Regions from separate parts of the Homo sapiens genome. Here regions 1 and 2 are each linked to region 3. The links are contacts of gene promoters, found by promoter capture Hi-C in blood cells and fetal thymus (Javierre and others, 2016). All regions are on one chromosome and are shown on one strand. The core of a region is centred on a gene start or on the middle of the fragment in contact, and the rest is flanking DNA. Distances in the headings are between cores, read along the strand shown.

Region 1 (3,410 bases), core at 585-3,084, 270 kb after region 3:
CCAGGATGCCGCGGTGAGGCCGCCGTCACGGACGCCCTCTTCCCCGCCCTCCTTGCGCGCAGCCTTCTGGGATGTATAGTCCTAGATCCGAGCACGCAGCGGCAAAAGGGCGCAGAAGAACCACAAACCCCAGAAGCCCTCGCGCCCACTCTTCTCCCTCCCCTCCAGAAGTCGGAGTGCTGTTTTTGTTGTTGGTGAAAGGTGAGGGGAACAGCTGATCCGTCTGTTGGGTAAGAAACTTGGCCTAATTGGGGGCGATCTTATGGGAGGGGAGGGTCACCCCACTTTCCAGTTTGGGGAAGGATAACGTAAGGGAACTGTCGAAGGGGAATACAGGAGCGTTTGGGTTGTAACCCTTTCCGTACTGGAGAAGCCACCCCCGCTGTTTGGGGAGTTCTTGGTTTCAAGGGGACTCTGATTGGGGGTGGGGGGCGCCCCCTCGTCGTCCTCTCCTTCTTCTCAATGCGTCTCTATAAAGCTGATCCCTTCAAGGGAGCTGAAATCTGCTTATTCGCTCCCAGGCAAGACGTGTCCCCTACACGTCTTCCCTCTCTCCCCTACGCAAATCCAAAGGCCTTTACGACGCTGAATCCCTGGGGAGGAAGGGGGACCTTCCAAGGTGTAGAATGTCAAGGAACTCTAGAGCCCTACAGAGTAGGGGATGGGACACCCGCTCTCCGCCCCATCATGTGAACATCTGAATCAGGCTACACACCTACATCTTAGGTGCCCAAAACTTTCTTTCGGACATGAAGAACGTTTACAGCTGTTACGGATTTTCTTTGTGGGGTGTATTTTAGGGTTCTCCAGGTATATCTTTGGGGACAATTTACCCCCACCCTTAGAAAGCTGGAAGAATTGCATTTGGAGAAAACATGGATTAGTTTCAACCAGGAATTTTTCAGGGAGATGAACATTAAAAAAAACTTTTTGTTCTACCTATTTGGGGGACAGAAGTTGCTCCTTTTTGTGTTGCTGGCTCACCTTTATCCACTGAGTTTCTGTTTTCTTTTAAAGTTCCTGTCCCCTGGACTTCAGCCTGGTGTGGGTTTGTGATGTTTGGGGGCGTGCATATGACTAGTGACAATGGCTGGTTGGACATGTCAGCTGTGAGTGACACAGGAAATAGATTAGTGGGCTGGAAAGGAGTGATGAATAAGAGGGCCATCTCACAGCCCTGGACTGAGGAGTTCTTTTGATCGTTATTATTGTTATCTGTCCTCACCCCACCCTCATATTTTCCAATTAACTCTCCCCAGCTAACTTGGAACACCCCTTCCTCTCAACCCCATCCTGTAGTGTGTCTCCAGCTACCAATACAAACAGATGGAAGGATGGAGGCTGAGGGGAGCAGAGAGAAAATGAGGAGAGAAATACTAAAGTGAAACCAGTAGGTTTCTAGTCCTGCTGCAGGCACAGTCTGGAGAGAAGAATGTTAGGTTCTTTTTGAACTATCTCCCCTTTCCTCAACGTTAAATATACATTTCCACTTCTTGGGGCCCCTTACTTCCCACTTTCTAGTCTGTTCCCTGCCCTGGGGTGGGGCTTTCCTGGCTCCAGGCCCCCACATTCCATCTCCCCACCCCCACCACGTTCCTGCTAAGCGCCTCACTCCACCCTTGAAGTTGCCGCCTCCAGAATTCTTGACTTCCTGGAATAATAAGTCAAGGGACAGAACCTGTCTTTCCTTATATCCTCCCCTTCCCTTTGTCTCTTGGATGCCAGCAGAAGCTTTCTGCTTCCCTAGAATTCATGGGGGTAGGCAGCTCAGAGAGATGAAAAGAGCTGAGAGCTCAGGAGCCTAAGGATTTGGGCTCAGTTCCCCTCGACCCCCAGCCATATTCTAGCTCTGAAAACTCAACCATTCCTTTCAGAGATTAGTTGCTGCTTTCTGATGTCATAACTCATTCCTGGATACAGCTGGGTCAACAAGCTTAGGAGTAGGTAAGGACACCTCTCTCAATGAGAGGGCCCCACACCTCAGTTGGATTTTGTATTCAAGAGCCAGGATGTGTGGGAGATGGGATGGAGAAATGGAGGCTGTCGACCAAGTCGCAGTATCCCAGGCTCTGTCCCCGTCAGTGTCCTTTTGGGAGCAAAATTAGAGAAGTCTGAACCCTCAGAAGGGTCTATGAGCCAGAGCGGGTACAGTGTGAGACAGGATGGGGACGGACTTGGAAGGCCAGACCTACGTCCTAGAGACTAAGAGTGATACCTCAAAAATGTCCCGTAACCCTCAGGGACTAGAAACCAGGTATGCCTTATCTCCAGGTGTAGTGGCAGGGGCTGTGAGTGTGTGGTGCTGGAGCTGTGGGGGGAAGGAGGTGGACTGGAAAGACTTTAGGCTATCAACCCTTTCTTTCATAGGAGGACAGATATCTCAAGGCCAGGATGGAAGAATCACCACTAAGCCGGGCACCATCCCGTGGTGGAGTCAACTTTCTCAATGTAGCCCGGACCTACATCCCCAACACCAAGGTGGAATGTCACTACACCCTTCCCCCAGGCACCATGCCCAGTGCCAGTGACTGGATTGGCATCTTCAAGGTATCTCTGGAACCCCTTTTGGCTTAGGTTTATGGGCTGTGAGTTGGTTGGAATAAGGGGAATGATTGGGCTCTTGGATTCTCAACCTCAGGTTGATAGAGAAGAAGAGAGAAAGATGTCACAGATGACAGAGGCCGCCTGTATAACCAAAGCACATATTTTCTCCATCTTAGCCTTGTTCTTTACTGACACATTAGTGTCCCTCCACTTTCCCTTTCTCTTGTCATTGTTGCCACTGTAGCTCCATCCTGCCCCCCTTATTCAACCCCTCAGCCCTTTCTTCCATCCATAGAAGGTAGTTCCATGACCATACCTTTCTCCAACCTTGGGCTTTCACAGGTGGAGGCTGCCTGTGTTCGGGATTACCACACATTTGTGTGGTCTTCCGTGCCTGAAAGTACAACTGATGGTTCCCCCATTCACACCAGTGTCCAGTTCCAAGGTACAAGGGAAGATGGAAAATTGGGAGAGAGGAGCCAAGGGAGTGGAGGTTTGAAAGAAGGTAGTGGGCTCAGAAACATTAAAAGTTAGGCACAAAGGACAAGGAAAAATAAACGAAAATAAATATAATGAGAATATATCCAACAGCGCTCAGCGGATAGAGAATCACGGGATTATCGCAGAATCAGGGACATAGAAACAGAAGGAACTTCAGAGGGCATCTAGTCCCCTGTCCTACCCAAAGAAGGAAAAATGGGGGAGTAAGGAAGAGGGAAAGGTAGAATTATGTGGTGAGAAGAGGGAAAGACCTGGGTTCAAATCTCACCTCTAACACTTACAAGCTGTTTGGCCTTGGGCAAATTACATAACCTCCCTGTGTCGGTTATCTTAACAGTAAAAGGGGATGCCTGGCTTATAGGGAC
Region 2 (3,407 bases), core at 805-3,304, 290 kb before region 3:
CGTGAGCCACTGTGCGCAGCCTAGATATTTTTTATTAGTCTATTTTGCTTCTTCTTGAAACAGAATATAATTCACTAAGTTTCAGATTCCTTACCCATATCAGTTAAAGTCCAGTCAAACCTCCCTGACAGGACACAATCTCCTTGCTTGGAGTTGTATAGTCTCCAGTATTCCCAGTCACTGAATTACACAGCTTACCTTTTCAGAAGATTTTACATTTACTTTTTATTCAATTTTACTAGCTCCATTCCAACATTAAAACCTTACATCCAAGTTCTGATCTGGACACCGCAGGCTGAGGTGGGAGGACTGCTTGAGCCCAGGAGCTTGAGACGAGCCTGGACAATATAGGGAGACCCTGTTTCTACAAAAAAAAAATTAGTGGGTGGGTACAGTGGCATATGCCTGTGGTCCCAGCTATGTTGGAAGCTGAGGTGAGAGAATTGCTTGAGCCTGGGAGTTCGAGGCTACAGTGAGCCAAGATCATGCTACTGTACTCCAGCCTGGGCGACAGAGCGAGACTGTCTCAAACAAAAATGGACACCACAGATACTGAGACCTAAAAGCAGCACAGTGATTAGGGAGATATGGAGTGTGGTCTCTAGCCTAAGTTTAGGGAACAAAAACAACTTGAAGCACTTCCTTTTTTTTTTGAGATGGAGTCTCTGTCGCCCAGGCTTGAGTGCAGTGGGCTGATCTCAGCCCACCTTAGCCTCCTGAGTAGCTAGGACTAAAGGCGCATGCCACCATGCCTGGCTAATATTTGTTAGTAGGGATGGGTTTCACCATGTTGGTCAGGCTGGTCTCCAACTCCTGGGCTCAAGCAATCTGCACACCTCGGCCTTCCAAAGTGCTAGGATTACAGGCATGAGGCATCCAATGTTTCCACATTGTTTTTTTTTGTTTTGTTTTGTTTTTTTTTGAGACAGCGTCTCTCGCTCTGTCGCCCAGGCTGGAGTGCAGCAGTAGGGTCTTGGCTCACTGCAACCTCCGCTTCCCAGGTTCAAGCAATTCTCCTGCCTCAGCCTCCCAAGTAGCTGGGATTACAGGCACCTGCCACCATGCCCAGCTAATTTTGGCATTTTTAGTAGAGACGGGCTTTTCACCATGTTGGCCAGGCTGGTTTCAAACTCCTGACCTCAAGTGACCCTCCCGCCTAGGCCTCCCAGAGTGCTGGGATTACAGGTGTTGAGCTACTGTACCTGGCAATGTTTCCACATTTCTTTCTTTTTTTTTTTTGAGACGGAGTCTTGCTCTGTCGCCCAGGCTAGAGTGTAGTGGCACGATCTCGGCTCACTGCAACCTTTGCCTCCTGGGTTCAAGTAATTCTCCTGACTCAGCCTCCAGAGTAGCTGCGATTATAGGCGTGCGCCACCATGTCCCGCTAATGTTTGTATTTTTTTTGGGCAGGGGGGACAGAGTCTCGCTCTGTCACCCAGGCTGGAGAGCAGTAGCGCGATCTCGGCTGACTGCAACCTCCGACTCCCCGGTTCAAGCAATTCTTCTGCCCCACCCTCCTGAGTAGCTGGGACTACAGGCGCCCGCTGCCACGCCCGGCTATTTTTTTGTACTTTTTTAGCAGAGACGGGGTTTCACCGTGTTGCCCAGGCTGGCAACCCGCCCACCTTGGCCTCCCAGGTAGGATTACAGGCATGAGCCACCGCGCCTGGCCAATTTTTGTATTTTTAGTAGAGATGGGGTTTCACTATGTTGGCCAGGCTGGTCTGGCACTCCTGACATCGTGATCCACCCGCCTCGCCCTCCCAAAGTGTTGGGATTACAAGCATGAGCCATCGCGCCCGGCCATCTTGTTTCCACATTTCAAGCTGCAAAGGCAGGGGCTTGGGCTAGCTGTTCAGAAATTTAATTAGTTTACCTAAGAGACGTCAGATCCCCCTGCTCTCATGAAAATCACTAGTGAGGTCTTATACACACACATACTTGTTCAGCGTGCTGACCTAAACAAGGTGGAACATAGTTTGAAAATAGAGCAATCTGAGTTATATGATCCAGTGGTTGCAGGAACTTGGGACAGGATTTTATCTTCAGCCTATTTCCTCATTTAGAAAATAATGGAATTTACTTTTCACAGTATTATAATAAAGTATATAGCAAAGTACATGGACTGAAACAATGTTTCTCTTCAATAGGAATGCTTTTAGGAAACTATCCTTAGGAGTTTTCCTTTCCCTTCAAGGAAATTTGATTGTCTACAATAAAAACCTCTAGCAAATGCCAAGTCACAAACTGAGACCCCTGACATTACTTCCCCCAAGTATCAAAAGGCTAATGGAACTTAGTCCCATATACAGTTGTTTCAAAACAGCATGGGTGTTAAAAGGCAAAAATTTCCCAAGAATCCTACCTCCACTTTTGTTAGGCTCAAAACTGAGGCTGGATAAACTTTCCTTGAAAATAACAGAAACAGTTTAGTGGCCAGGCACGGTGGCTCACACCTCTAATCCCAGCACTTTGGAAGGCCAAGGTGGGCGTTTATTACCTAAGGCCAGGAGTTCAAGACCAGCCTGGGCAATACGGTGAAACGCTGTGTCTCTACTAAAAATACAATTAGCCAGGCACCTCTAGTCCCACCTACACGGGAGGTTGAGGCAGAATTGCTTGAACCTGGGAGGCAGAGGTTGCAGTGAGCAGAGTGTCACTGCACTCCAGTCTGGGTGACAGAGGGACACTTCGTCACACACACACACACACGCAAGAACCTAAGCATTTGCTAGAGGGTACAATTATTGCTTCCAAAATAGTCCTTACATTTTTAGGCTATCTTTGAGAGGCTAAGTCTTGCCTCTCATTCAGTTCACTTTCTTACTCCTGGCTTGAGAATTCTACTGAAGTATGAGACAGCTGGCCAATAAGCCCAACTTGTTTGCCAAAGATGAAATCCATTATGTCCTTCTGCAACAGATGGTGAGCGTAAGTCCCAATAGAGACATACTGAGCTCAATGGCAGTGCTACAACTTGATTTTCCCTTGCCAGGGGAGCTAGAAAAAGGACATGCTCAATTGGATCAATAGTAAAGTTTACTTATAGTGAGCCAAGAATTACTCCTGTAGTGAGAACCCATTTCTATTTTCATTAAACCATGAAGCTGAATGGGATGAATCTAAATATAGAAATTCACATTAGAATCAACCATATCCTCTCTAACCTGAATTTCAACATGTTATTAACCATAGATATCACAAAGGAGGACAAAACAAGCAGAACTAAGTTAAATACAGTTTATTAAAAAAAAAAACCCATTCACAAAATGGAATTTGAGCTGCAGAACAGCTCATGTAAACTGCATGGCAGTGATAACGAAGTACAGTGGCTCAGATAAAGGTCTTCACAAGGACGTTCCTGCAAAAGGCAAAAGAGGTTGTAAAGTATTCATATAAGCAGAGGT
Region 3 (3,442 bases), core at 727-3,226:
AAGGGGGGCTTTAGTCAAGTAGGAAATTATCAGGGTGGGTGAAGAAGAGGGGGCATGGAGGTTGGCTGGGGGGTGGGGAGAAAGGGACAGGTGAAACCCCCAGAAATATGGTGCACTTAGGCAGGGTAGAGTGAATTTAAAGGAGGGGTGCAATTTCAGGGTCAGAAAGGAAGAGTCCCAGTCTGTGGCCAGGGAAAATAGACAGGAGCTGAGGTTGAGATGCAGGCTCTGGAGGCAGCAGGGTAGGAGTCTTCCCAGACCCGGCCACGCCTGCCCTTCTTTCCCTCTCCTGTCCCCAGGAGGGGACCAAACGCCAGGGGTAGGGGCGGGGGCTAGTTTTCTCCTGCGTCTCTATGGATCTTTCTCCTCTGGGGTGGAGAGGGGCTGGGGAGAGTGTGTATAGTATGTGTGTTCCGGGGGGAGGAAAGTTAGGGGGAGACAGCTGCAGCTGGCAGCACCGACCCCAGCTCCATAGGCCCCCTCCCAAGTCTCTGCTCCTCCCCCTCTCTGGCTCTTTCCTTTTCCTTTTTGGTCTAAGGGGGCGGCTTAACGGGGCTGGGATTTCAACTCATGGGGGAGGATGAGGGATGTGTTTGGTTGGGGAGAGGCGACTTGGGGGTTCAGCTCCTTGGCGCCACTGTCTTCCCCTCCCTTGAGCTGGACTGAGCTGGGAAGCCCAACTTACAACAAGAAACAGAATATCTCTTTGGCCTTGATGGAGTTGGGTTAGCTGTCAATCAAAAAATCTCCCTCACTAGTTCAAGGAAAAGACAGGAGGTTCCAGTCCCCCTGCCGAGGCTTTCTCCAAATCCCCAGTACAGCCAGCACCTCCCCCAGCCCAGGGCGGCTGAGGACCGGGCCCGGCACTTGGGCGGCTGCTGGCAGCGATGAGCAGAGACGTTTAGCCCTCAGCGGGGCCCGGGGCCAGACTGAGACCAAGAGGACATCAGGGGACAGAGCCTGAGAGAGACTGAACCCGAGACAGCCTGGGACAGACCAACTGAAACATGGAGTCAGGCCCAAGAGAGGAAAGAAGGAAGCGGAGCATTAGAATAAAGGGAAAAAAGGGGGAGAATTAAAAGAAGGAAGGCAAGATGAAAAGAGATAGGAGAGCCGGGAAAGGCAGGCGTGCAGAGAGGGAGGCGGAGGAAGGGCGGCCGTAGGCAGGCAGGACGGGGCAGGGGCGAGCTGGCGGAGCAGCCGTGGCATTGTGCAGCCCGCTGGCTTGCCGGGCCTTTGCCGCGGGACCGGCTCCGGGCGCGGCGGCCACTTCTGTCTGGACACAAAGGCGGAAGAGGGCTCCTCTCCTGCCCCTCCCAGGAGACTTGCTCGGATGGGTACTCTAGGCCTCAGGGATATAGAACCCCATATTGGTCCAGACAGCCGCTTAGGCAGCTGGGGGCTGAGCCCTGCTCTATTCAAGGAGCGAAGAAACAGAAGAGGAAAGAGGTTTCACCCCTGCTCTTCCTTTGCGTCTTCTCCAAGCGACAAGGCCAGCTGCCCCAGCCTCAGCTTTCCTGGAGGAAAGAGTCCCTAAGGAGCCTCCCCTATGGGCCTCTGCTATTTGGGAGAGTTCCTCAAATAGACATTGGGGCCGTAAAGAGATGCCCCCTTCTCTCCTACCCCCTTTGAACACCGCCTTCTTTTCAACTCTTGAGCTGCCTGCGCACCCTGCCTGCCCACTCTGCGGAGGCGGCAGCAGCGGGCAGTGAGGCTCACCGGCGGGATCCCTGCTGCCGTGAAATCCCCTGTGAAACCAAGGAGATTGTCGCTTTCCTTTATTTTATTTTATTTTCTGGGACTATGACCTCCGAACTCTTCCCACTCAGAGGCAGGCACGGCTGTGGATCAGGAAGCAGGCCTCGCCCACAGCCCCTTCCCAGCCAATGCCTCATTTTCCCTGCGCCCTTCGGAGAGAGGCGGCCTTGGGGAGGGGGGCTAGAAGAGGCTGGGAGTTCCGGAGTCCACTGGGCGGAGGTTCCGCAGGTCCACAACTGCATGTGGCCTGTAGCCCCCATTCTCCACATTTGGAGGGGTGTGGGTGGCAGACCAGGGCTTTGAAGCGGACCTGCAGATTTCCCTCAAATCCAGGTTTGTAGGTGCGGGGGGCGGGGCACAAAGGATATAGGGGCACCAAGAAGGAAGGTCTGTCTTCCTGGGGTTCAGTTACTCCTTCTGAATCTTCTGCCATACTCCAGACTTCCCCTCACCCACATACTCCCTTCAATTTTCCTCAGCACCGCTGGGGCAAACCCAGGGACTGGAGGCCACTGGGAGTTCTTGTTGGGGAGGGGGAAACCCCAGCTTTAGCTCGCAGCTGTGCATTCACTCTGGTTCTTAGAGTTCCCTCCCACCCCCAAAAGACTTCACTGGGCACAGGAGAGACCCCTGAGGGGGAGGGGCACCCTTACTCCATCACCTGAAACCTGGGCAGCTGCGGCCACAACCAAACTAGCACCGTGGGAAGGACAGACAGAAAGATAGACAGGTTAGAGTCGTCCCCTCCCCCTGCCCCGCGCCTTCCTTTTAGTGATTTAAATTCCCTCCGGTTCAATCCACACCGTCAAGTTCGGATTAAATTTAAAACAGGCTTTCTCCGGTGTCCCCAGCGGGCCATCCCGGCTGCCGCAGGCAGGGAGCCCGCTCCCGGCTCGTCAGCACCCGCCCTGCGCGGAGAAGGCCGTACTCCATTTGCTTTCATTTTCCTTCTCCCCCTGAAATGGGCTCATTTCACCTCTCCACTGCCCTCTTCCCCTCCCCGCCCCCTCCCTGGTTCCCCTCTACTTTCCCCCCTTCTCTCTCCTGATCCCTCTTTGTTGGGAAAAACACACCCACACACAACTCCTCCTAGCTAAGGCCTGCGCTGGAAGCAGAAACTGAGTTCTCTTGGCCTGCCGCGAGGAAACCCGCGTCCTGCCCCCACCCAAGGTGGGTATCTGGGATCCCTACACACCAGGAGTCAGGTCCCGAGGCCCAGCAGGAGTGAAATCCCCAGGGCCTGTGAACGTGGCTCTCTCAAAGCCACGGCCTGCCGGGCCTGCATTCCCGCCGGCGCCCCCGCCCTGACGCTCCGCAGCAAGCGGGGCTATTTCCGGCTCCCCCAACGCGGTCTGGTTTTCCAGCCTGGGAGTGGCTGGAGGGGGAGCCGCCCCAGAGCTAGAGCCGCTCCCTGCCCTGCCCGGAGCCCCAGTGGCCCTGAGCGCCTTGTTACCTGATCTTTTGTGTGATGTATGTGTCGCAAGGAAATTTGCAGTGACTTTGGAGCCCAGACTGAGGAAGCGGAGGTGGCGAAAGGAGAGACAATACGAGCCCGAAGTACAATTAAGGGGCCAGAGCCGCTCGTCTCTCCCCCGCCCTCCCTGCCCGACTGCGAGCTGTCTGGCCTCAAACCTCAGGGCGACACGCGAACCTGGAGCCGGAAACTCAGCCCGTGGCAGAGGGA

The links. The method cuts DNA at HindIII sites, captures the fragments that hold promoters and counts their contacts. A CHiCAGO score of 5 or more calls a contact.
Region 1: a contact is called between a fragment that was not itself captured here and the fragment with the promoter of HOXC-AS2 in region 3, in 1 of 17 cell types (total B cells). The highest score is 5.1, in total B cells.
Region 2: a fragment that was not itself captured here is called in contact with the fragment with the promoter of HOXC-AS2 in region 3 in 2 of 17 cell types (total B cells and naive B cells); the score reaches 7.1 in total B cells.

Annotation. Positions count from the first base shown.
Region 1 is chr12:53,724,224-53,727,633 of GRCh38, reverse strand. CALCOCO1 (calcium binding and coiled-coil domain 1) reads left to right here and starts at 182. Exons shown (of 15, transcript NM_020898.3): 1 at 182-230; 2 at 2,368-2,547; 3 at 2,887-2,989. The coding sequence starts at 2,392. It overlaps LOC105369774 (a long non-coding RNA gene), which reads right to left and starts at 1,055. Exons shown (of 3, transcript XR_944973.3): 1 at 985-1,055. RefSeq lists enhancers at 30-89, 1,407-2,606. The HindIII fragment of the contact is 202 bases long and covers 1,734-1,935 here.
Region 2 is chr12:54,286,907-54,290,313 of GRCh38, reverse strand. HNRNPA1 (heterogeneous nuclear ribonucleoprotein A1) reads right to left here. Exons shown (of 11, transcript NM_031157.4): 11 at 3,227-3,407. Among named protein-coding and RNA genes, the nearest start is that of HNRNPA1, 7.9 kb to the right of the region's middle. The HindIII fragment of the contact is 6,133 bases long and covers 1-3,407 here.
Region 3 is chr12:53,995,319-53,998,760 of GRCh38, reverse strand. HOXC-AS2 (HOXC cluster antisense RNA 2) reads left to right here and starts at 1,976. Exons shown (of 3, transcript NR_047505.1): 1 at 1,976-2,091; 2 at 2,852-2,928; 3 at 3,243-3,442. RefSeq lists an enhancer at 2,976-3,442. The HindIII fragment of the contact is 15,520 bases long and covers 1-3,442 here.